Linked DNA regions of Homo sapiens: regions 1 and 3 are each linked to region 2. Evidence: promoter capture Hi-C in 16 types of primary human blood cells and fetal thymus (Javierre and others, 2016). All regions are on one chromosome and are shown on one strand. Each heading gives the region's core, a stretch centred on a gene start or on the middle of the fragment in contact. The rest is flanking DNA. Distances are from core to core; before and after follow the strand shown.

Region 1 (2,700 bases), core at 201-2,700, 150 kb after region 2:
AAAAAAAAGATATTTTCTATTTCCTTGTATAACAGTGATATTGGCTATCAATTTACATGTTTTTTACATGTTTATTGGCTATTTGAGTTTCCCTTTTGGGAACAGACTGATTATTTCTTTTGCCTATTTTTCTACAGGGTTGTTTATTATTATTATTTTTTTTTATTTAAGACCGTGCCTGGCCTTTTTTTTTTGAGATGGAGTCTTGCTGTGTCACCCAGGCTGGAGGGCAGTGGCACAATCTTGGCTCACTGCAACCTCCTCCCTGGTTCAAGTGGTTCTCATGTTTCAGCTAGCTGGAATTACAGGCACATGCCACCATGCCCAGCTAATTTTTGTATTTTTAGTAGAGATGGGGTTTCAGCCTGTTGGCCAGGCTGGTCTTGAACCCCTGACCTAAAGTGATCTGTCCATCAAAGTGCTAGGATTACAGCGCTTACAGCTCACAGGCGTGAGCCACTGTGTCTGGCCCAGGTTGTTTATTCTTTTCTATTTGATTTGTAAGTATTCATTTTATATTTTGAATGTTAGTCCTTTTTAGATTACAGATTTTGCAGATACTTTGTGAATCTGAGGAGCCCTTTAAAAATATGTATGATTGAGACTTACCCACAGAAGTTCTCATTCGTAAGTGTGGTGGTTGTGGGGATTGGCATCTGTATTTTAAAATTTGATATACAATCAAATTTAAGAACTATGATAAGATTATGGAGAATGGAGGAATTTAGGACAGTAGCTAAGACCTCAAAAAGATGTGTGTTCAACTCTCAACTGTGTCATTTAACAGCTGTGGGGCCTTGGGCAGGTTATTAAATGTCCATAAGCTTTGTTTTCTTCATCTGAAAAATGGAAACAGTAGGATTTATGAGATAGTTAAATAAGATTGATTCTTGTGAAATGTTTAACACAGTACCTAGTTCATAGGAAAAGTTAAAAAATAAAAAATAGAGACTTATTTTTCTATTCAAGCAATCAAAATATTAAGACTATAAAATACATGTTATGTTATTTGTGAAAAATGTCCATTAAGGTTCAAAATTGGTAACCATTCTCGGTATCAGGTTCATGGAGGAATTGAAATCAATCAGTTGGGTCTTGCTGATGGAACATTCTTGAGTTGTAGTGTCATATCATTAGGAAGGACATTCTTGTCACAGAAGATCTACAAAATCTGTAAAATACGATAAAATGTACCAGATAGTAGCTGAAACTGAAGTGGAGTGTCTGCGTTGTGAAATAGTGTGTGTGAGTAGGATTTTGACCCCGTGGTTAGTGATTATACAACCGACCACCAGGTACCCAGATGGACTTTTCCATCATTGACCTGAAAGAGGCATAAATTTACAGACAGATTAAACAGTCTTCTACCTGTCTGTGAGGTCATGAGGTCATGGGAGGGAGAACACCAACAGAAGTGATTTGGAATGAGTTATTGAGTTGTGGTTGTGGTACCTATGACTTCTTTCTTTCTTTTTTTAGACGGAGTCTTGCTGTGTCTCCCAGGCTGGAGTGCAGTGGCATAATCTTGGCCCACTGCAACCTCCACCTCCTGGATTCAAGCGATTCTCATGCCTCAGCCTCCCAAGTAGCTGGAATTACAGGCACGCGCCACCACGCCTGGCTGATTTTTTTTTTGTATTTTTAGTAGAGATGGGGTTTCACCATGTTGGCCAGGCTGGTCTTGAACTCCTGACCTGAAGTGATCCACCCGCCTTGGCCTCCCAAAGTATTGGGATTACATGTGTGAGCCACCACGCCTGTCCCCTGTGACTTCTTCGGGTACAGTTCCCTCCTGTTTTACCTATGTGGCAAATGAGCCAGGAACGGTTCTCTGAATGTTTTATTAGGTTCATTCATCCAATTATTCATTTGTTCATTTACCATGCAGTCAGAATCTACAATCTTTTATTATTTGAAAAAAAATACAAAACTATATTACCATAATTTTATTTTAACTGTACATATCCATTTTTAAAGACTGGAAAGACCATGTTATTAATGTAATTTTTTTCTTTTTTTACCCCAAATATTCTACAATTAGCATGTATGACTTTAGTAGTAAAAAAGATAAGCTTGTGAAATCTATCAGCTCTCAGGCTAAGCATTACACCAAGAGAATCTTGCACGATCCTTCAATCATAAGAAATCACATGTTAGTGCAGAAGGTCCAGCGTGAAATCCTCTAAGTGGCCAAATCTAGGAGTTCTTCTCTGGCTTGGTTGGCTAAAGCAGTGATCTGTGTCACCCCCAGGGCCATCACTGTGCATGTCCCCATGCCCTCAGCAGGAGTCGTGGACATCCCCATTGTGGAGAAGGAGGCGCAAGGCCAGCAGCAACACCACAAGGTGAGCGAGCAGCCTCCCTGAGGCATGGGTTGCTGCTCTTCCTTGGGAATCATATCTTGATTTCTTTGGCTTCAGATGACATTGTCCCCGAGCTACCGCATGGACGATGGGAAAATGGTGAAAGTGCGGCGCAGCCGGAATGCGCAAGTTGCTGTAACTCAGTACCAGGTGCTCAGCAGCACTCTCTCCTCCGCCCTCGTGGAGCTCCAGCCCATCACTGGTGAGAGTGTCACTTTTCCGCAGTGGGATCACAAAACCCTGTGCCACCAGGTTTTGTCCAGGGCCTCGTTCTGAGCAGCTAGTAGTGTGGCTGACTTGTGTGAGAATGTGCTTCTGGTGCTGATCTGAGGCCGGG
Region 2 (2,700 bases), core at 178-2,677:
AAACAGCGGGCACGTCCCCGGAACCCACTCTAGAATTATCGGGCAGCTTTGGAGAGTAACAGCATGGGAGAAATATTACCAATAGTGAATATTTATACAGCTCTCCCTCCGTGCAGGCGCCTTTCAAAGCACTTAGCATATATCAACTCATTTAAAATCCCCCTGGCAGATGCCAGGGCCAGGACCTAGAGGAGGTGGAGTCTGTAGGACGGGTCCGGCACAGCTCAGGAGACAGTGACACGGGTGTGTGTCTCTTGTGAGAACTCAGCCTGTACCAGGCCTGTTCCCAAAGTTCAAAAAGAATGAGTCCGCCTGAGCCTGGCTTCCACGCGGTACCCGCCTCCGGCGGTGGAAAGTACAGGCTTCCCCAAGAGGCCTGTGGGGGGTGCCAGCTTGTGGGTGGCCATGAGGTCAGACAGGGCACAGCTGGGCACCCGAACACTGCCTACACTCCCAGCCTTCTGGCAGCAGTTCCCTTAAGCCAGGCCCTCAGGACCCAGGCTGGGGAGCAGAGGAAGCAGCCACAGTAGGTCAGGCCTCAAGCTGCCCAGACAGAGCCTCCCCCCAGGACTGGGAATGGAGGGGCAGTGCTGGCAGACATGTTGGCAGTTCTGGGCTGGCCGGGAGGTCCCTGCCAGCCAGGTCCCCGAGGAAACACCCACAGCAGACAGCTGAGCCCACTCCCCCCATCGCATCCCTCCCACTGCTCACCACCCATGCAGCCCTGAGGCACAGTGGCCTAGGCCTGACGACCCCCATAACGTGGCCCTAGGACCCTGGGCACAGCCGGCCTCCCACTGACAACTCCACCTTTGGGTCCTGCTCAGCGACCTTGCGACTCCTGCACACAGGCGGACCCCGCAAAGCCTGTCACCTCCAGCACAGTCAGCTCCCAAGTGCTGGACCTGACCGGGGTAGTTGTGGGAGAAACCATCGCTCGAGGATGCTGGAGGTGGGGGCCGCCGCTTCAGTCCGGGCGCAGGGCTGGGGGATTGGGGGCGGAAACTTTCCGCAGAACTGTCCCGCTTGCTCACTCCAAGGGAACGGAGAGGATCCGGCTTCCCGCGAAAATCTGGTCCAGGGAAAGGGACCCCGGAAAGCAGCTCCGCAGGGCTGTGGCAGCCCCACCCCGACCCGCGCTGCGCCCACGTGCAGGGCCCGACCCCCTCCGGGAGGCGCGGCGCCGGCTGGGGTCAGGCGGCCGAGGACCCCGCGGCTCCCCGCCCCGCCCCGCCCCGCGGGCCCCCGCGCACCGCCGCCGCGTACTCACCCTCACGGGTGGAGCGGGGCGGGGCAGCACGGTTCCGCGCGCAGCTCCGATCCGCTAGGCGCACCGACCGGCGGCGCAGCGCTGGCGCGACGGCTCGACTCGGCCGGGTCCCTGTCCCGGGCGCGGGTCCGGCCTGGGAGCGGGCGAGTCCGCCTGCAGGGGAGGCGGGGACCCGGGCCCGGGTTGGGGGCGGGGAAGGGGCTGGACACGCTTGCGCACACGGCGGCCCGACTCCCAGGAGCTCCCGGGAGGGGTAGAAAGGGCGGGGTGGAGGAGGGGGAAGGGCGGGGGTGATGCCGCGCGGTCGCAGGCTTGGGATGGTGTTCGCGCCTCCGAGACCCGGACAGAGGCAAGCAGGGGCGCCGTGGGTGCCAGAGAGGCGGAAGAGGAGGCCTGATGGGGTGAGCACAGGGCCAGGGCAGGCACTGCCTGTGAATGGCGCCAGGGTGGGTATGCCCAGCGCAGCCAAGGCGCTCGCTCCCGGGAACAATGAGAATCAAGAAAGGGTGCAGTGCTCTATCCCACGGGGAACGGTGTCCTTCCCTCACTGGGGAAACTGGGGCAGGGTCCTGTTCCGGGAGCCTATGCTTCCCGTGCCCCATGCACGCAAGGCAGCCAGTCAGTCCCCTGGGCCCAGACGTGGGCCCTTCCTCTGCTTCGGTTGGGGCCTGCTGCCCCTAAACTGCTCTCTCTGCACCCCTCACTTGCATACTCTTTATCTTGGCCTCAGAAAGTTTCTCAGTTTCCTTTCCGTTATTGAAGGCGCCAGGCATCCTGTCTCCAGGAAGAAACCCCTGGGCCCCTGACCCTGGTTCTTTGGACCCAGGCATCCCCCCAAATAAACCTGGGAACTGCCCAGGCTGAAGAACAGTTCAGAAGTCACCCTACAGGACAATCCACAGCCCCTTAGGCCAGTCCCTTTCACAGGTCAGCACAGTGTTTCCGGAGCCCCACGTATCAACAGCCCAGTGCCGGGAGCGCCAGGGGCTCCAAGGAAACTATCAGACCCATTCCCTGTCCCCAGGAAGCTTACCATCCAGCGGCACAGAGAAGGCTCACCATGGACTCCATTCAAGAACGAGGCAGGATAGGATGTGAATAAGTGCAAGGTGTGAGTGACTGACAGTAAGTGCAAGGGGGTTCAGAGAAGTGGCAGCTCCAAGCCTGCTTCTGCTGAAGCTGGAGGGCTTATCTGTCAAGAACCCCCAACTCAGGAAGCTCTGCTCCAAGTGAGCTGAGTAAGGAGAGTCTGCCTCCAAGTTGTTCCTCTGCAGGTGACTGTGCTCCATGCTAAATCATTCCTTGCACGGGCAGAAGCTGTTTGGCATTGCACCAGTGTCTGATTTTGTTTGAATATGGTGCCTTTGGCTTAATCAGTCAGACATGCATTCAACAACTATTTATTTATTTATTTATTTATTTATTTATTT
Region 3 (2,700 bases), core at 154-2,653, 130 kb before region 2:
GGGCATGGAACAAGGTAATAGCAGAACAAGAGGTGGAAACAAGCCCATTTCACATGCAATATGCTACTCTGCCCCCATGTGGAGTTACTTATTAAATAAACAACAATAATACTAAGAGCTAAAATTTAGTGGGTTCTTACTACAGTGCCAAGCTCTGGGACAAGACACTGCATAACTCTTACATGAACTCATTTAAACAGCACACCAGCCCTGTACAACAGCTACTATAATATCTATGACATTAACATCATCCAGCACAGAGAATTTGCACATGGTCACGTGGCCAGTGAATGACGGAGCCAGAAGCCCAGCCAGGCACTCTGACTTCAGGGCCTCCCTTCTTATCCCCTAAACAATATGAGCTCCAGCTGAGAAGTGGGCTTCCCAGTGTCCCAAACCTTTGCAGGGGACCTCTGAAGTCAGCTAGTTCAGGGTTCCCCCCACCCCCAGGTTAGGAGCAGAACTGAAACAGCCTCCAGCACACCTTCCTCTGAGCTACATGCCATCATCCTAAACCTGCGTCTTGCTCCTTGTTCCTCTTTTCTCTCTGTCCCCAACCTCCTTGGAGACACGTCTGTGCGATTGTGCTGCCAAATATATCGGATGCCACATCCTTTAACAATCCCACTTGTGGCCGGGCGCAGTGGCTCACAGCTGTAATCCCAGCACTTTGGAGGCTAAGGTGGGCGGATCACCTGAGGTCAGGCGTTTGAGACCAGCCTGGCCAACATGACGAAACCCCGTCTCCACCAAAAGTACCAAAAAATATCAGCCAGGCGTGGTGGCAGGTGCCTGTAATCCCAGCTATTTAAAAGGCTGAGGCAGGAGAATCGCTTGAACCTGGGAGGCGGAGGCTGCAGTGAGCCTACATTGTGCCATTGCACTCCAGCCTGGGTGACAAGAGCGAGACTCCGTCTCAGAAAAAAAAAAAAAAAAATCCCATTTGCATCTTGCCCCACATCTTCTTAATATAGACCTAAGTGGAGGCGGGGAGGGTCTGAAGAGGGGGAAAGCACACCTACATTAATTAAATCACATATATGTAATTAACACATCTACAGGATTGCCAGATAAAATACAGGATTCCCTGTTAAATGTGAATTTCAGATAAACATACTTACACTACCATTTTTTAATTTATCTGAAATTTACATTTAACAGGGCCTACTGTTCTTTGATTTGTTAAGTCTGGAAACCCTACCCATATCCCAGCTCTGCTGCTTACTAGCTATGTGATGTTGGGCAAGTAACTTGACTACTTTGTGGCTGTTTCCTCACCTCCAAAATATGCATCGTCATTGTATCTACCTTATATAGAGCTGTGAGGATTAAAGGATATTTGTAAAGTACACAGAAGAGTTCTTGCTGTGTGGTAAGCCCTATATCAATGTTAGCTATTATTCATATTATTGGTGCTGTTTTTTTATGACTGCATCCAAGGTAACATACTAGGCAATGGGAGACAGGCAAAGAGGCGCCAGGACTCCTACCCTGCAACTGTAGGGAACCTGAAACAGGTCCACAAGTCAATGCAATAGAGATGTGGTGAGGACCAGTGTAAGAGGTGCTCAGGTGGGGAGGGGGCTTCTAATTCAGTGGGATCAGGCAAGGCACCAGGCAACAAGTATTTATTAAGTGCTCACTATGCCAGGCACTGTACTAAGTACTAGAGAGAGAATTTGGCAAGGACCAGCCCTCAAGGAGCTCACAGCCTCAGGGGAACAACAGGTGGTAATGGCGCCAGGCACCACATGTACCTGCTGAGGCGGGCACATGGTCTTATGGCAGTGCAGAGGCTGCAGGTGGGAGAGTCAGGGGTTGAGATTGAGAGAAGACTTTGTGGAGGAGGTGACAATAGCCTGAGTCTTAAAGAATAACCAAGAGTTAACAAGGCATGATAGGCCTTTGAGCTGATTGAAAAGAGGCTGGGATTCCAGCCAGTTAAGACTCAGGCAAGGAGATTCCCAGCAAAGGGAACTTCACAAGCCAAAGCGTGTATTTGTAAAAGGGCAGGCTATCCTCACAGAAGAGTTAATGGTCACACAGGAGAAAGCTGCAGAGATGAGACCTCACTGGAGAGAACCGGGGAAGGCCCCCATGATGAGGAATTGATTTTTGTGCTGGAGCAGTGGGAACCATTGAACATTGTGAGCAGCAGACCGAGCTTCCAGAACAGTCACCTGGCCATAGTGGAGGGAGAATGGATCGGAGGGAAGTGGAGAGACAGTTGATGCCGTGGGCCCAGTTCTGAATCAAACAGCAGGGGACTACTGGGTTACATCAGTTAGCTTTTGCTGCTGCAGGGGAGAAAAAGTAATATATTTTCCTCATCCATTACAAGGTTTGCAGCTGACACCCGTGTAACAAACGATAGATTAAGAAGAGAAAAGTGCAACAGATGTATTTAACCAAAGTTTTATGTGAGCTTTCAGAAATGAAGGCCCAAATGCCATGGGAAAATTGTGTATTTGTAGGCTTATGTTCAACAAAGAATGGGCAGTTGTGCAGAAATGTGATTGGACAAAAAAGGGGGTATGACCTCATGGTAACAAACCAGAAGAACTTAGCAAGGCCTTGCCTGCATTCCTCTTTGAGTTCCTGTACACCGTTTCTTTCCTCTGAGTATAGGGCAGGATCCCTCTGGAATGAGGATCTCATGACCTAGTTTCAGGGGAGATGGGTCAAAGAATTTTTTACAGC

What was found. The method cuts DNA at HindIII sites, captures the fragments that hold promoters and counts their contacts. A CHiCAGO score of 5 or more calls a contact.
Region 1: a contact is called between a fragment that was not itself captured here and the fragment with the promoter of ST3GAL4 in region 2, in 1 of 17 cell types (neutrophils). The highest score is 9.4, in neutrophils.
Region 3: a contact is called between a fragment that was not itself captured here and the fragment with the promoter of ST3GAL4 in region 2, in 1 of 17 cell types (neutrophils). The highest score is 8.4, in neutrophils.

Annotation. Positions count from the first base shown.
Region 1 is chr11:126,205,333-126,208,032 of GRCh38, reverse strand. RPUSD4 (RNA pseudouridine synthase D4) reads left to right here. Exons shown (of 7, transcript NM_032795.3): 4 at 2,252-2,345; 5 at 2,421-2,565. Among named protein-coding and RNA genes, the nearest start is that of RPUSD4, 5.0 kb to the left of the region's middle. The HindIII fragment of the contact is 1,248 bases long and covers 827-2,074 here.
Region 2 is chr11:126,354,413-126,357,112 of GRCh38, reverse strand. ST3GAL4 (ST3 beta-galactoside alpha-2,3-sialyltransferase 4) reads right to left here and starts at 1,427. Exons shown (of 11, transcript NM_001254757.2): 1 at 1,271-1,427. GSEC (G-quadruplex forming sequence containing lncRNA) reads left to right here and starts at 1,526. Exons shown (of 2, transcript NR_033839.1): 1 at 1,526-1,671. RefSeq lists enhancers at 469-618, 306-1,049, 1,050-1,791, 1,792-2,535 and a silencer at 1,209-1,588. The HindIII fragment of the contact is 3,511 bases long and covers 1-2,300 here.
Region 3 is chr11:126,483,051-126,485,750 of GRCh38, reverse strand. The region is part of intron 4 of KIRREL3 (kirre like nephrin family adhesion molecule 3); the gene reads left to right. Among named protein-coding and RNA genes, the nearest start is that of KIRREL3-AS1, 59 kb to the left of the region's middle. The HindIII fragment of the contact is 6,543 bases long and covers 1-2,700 here.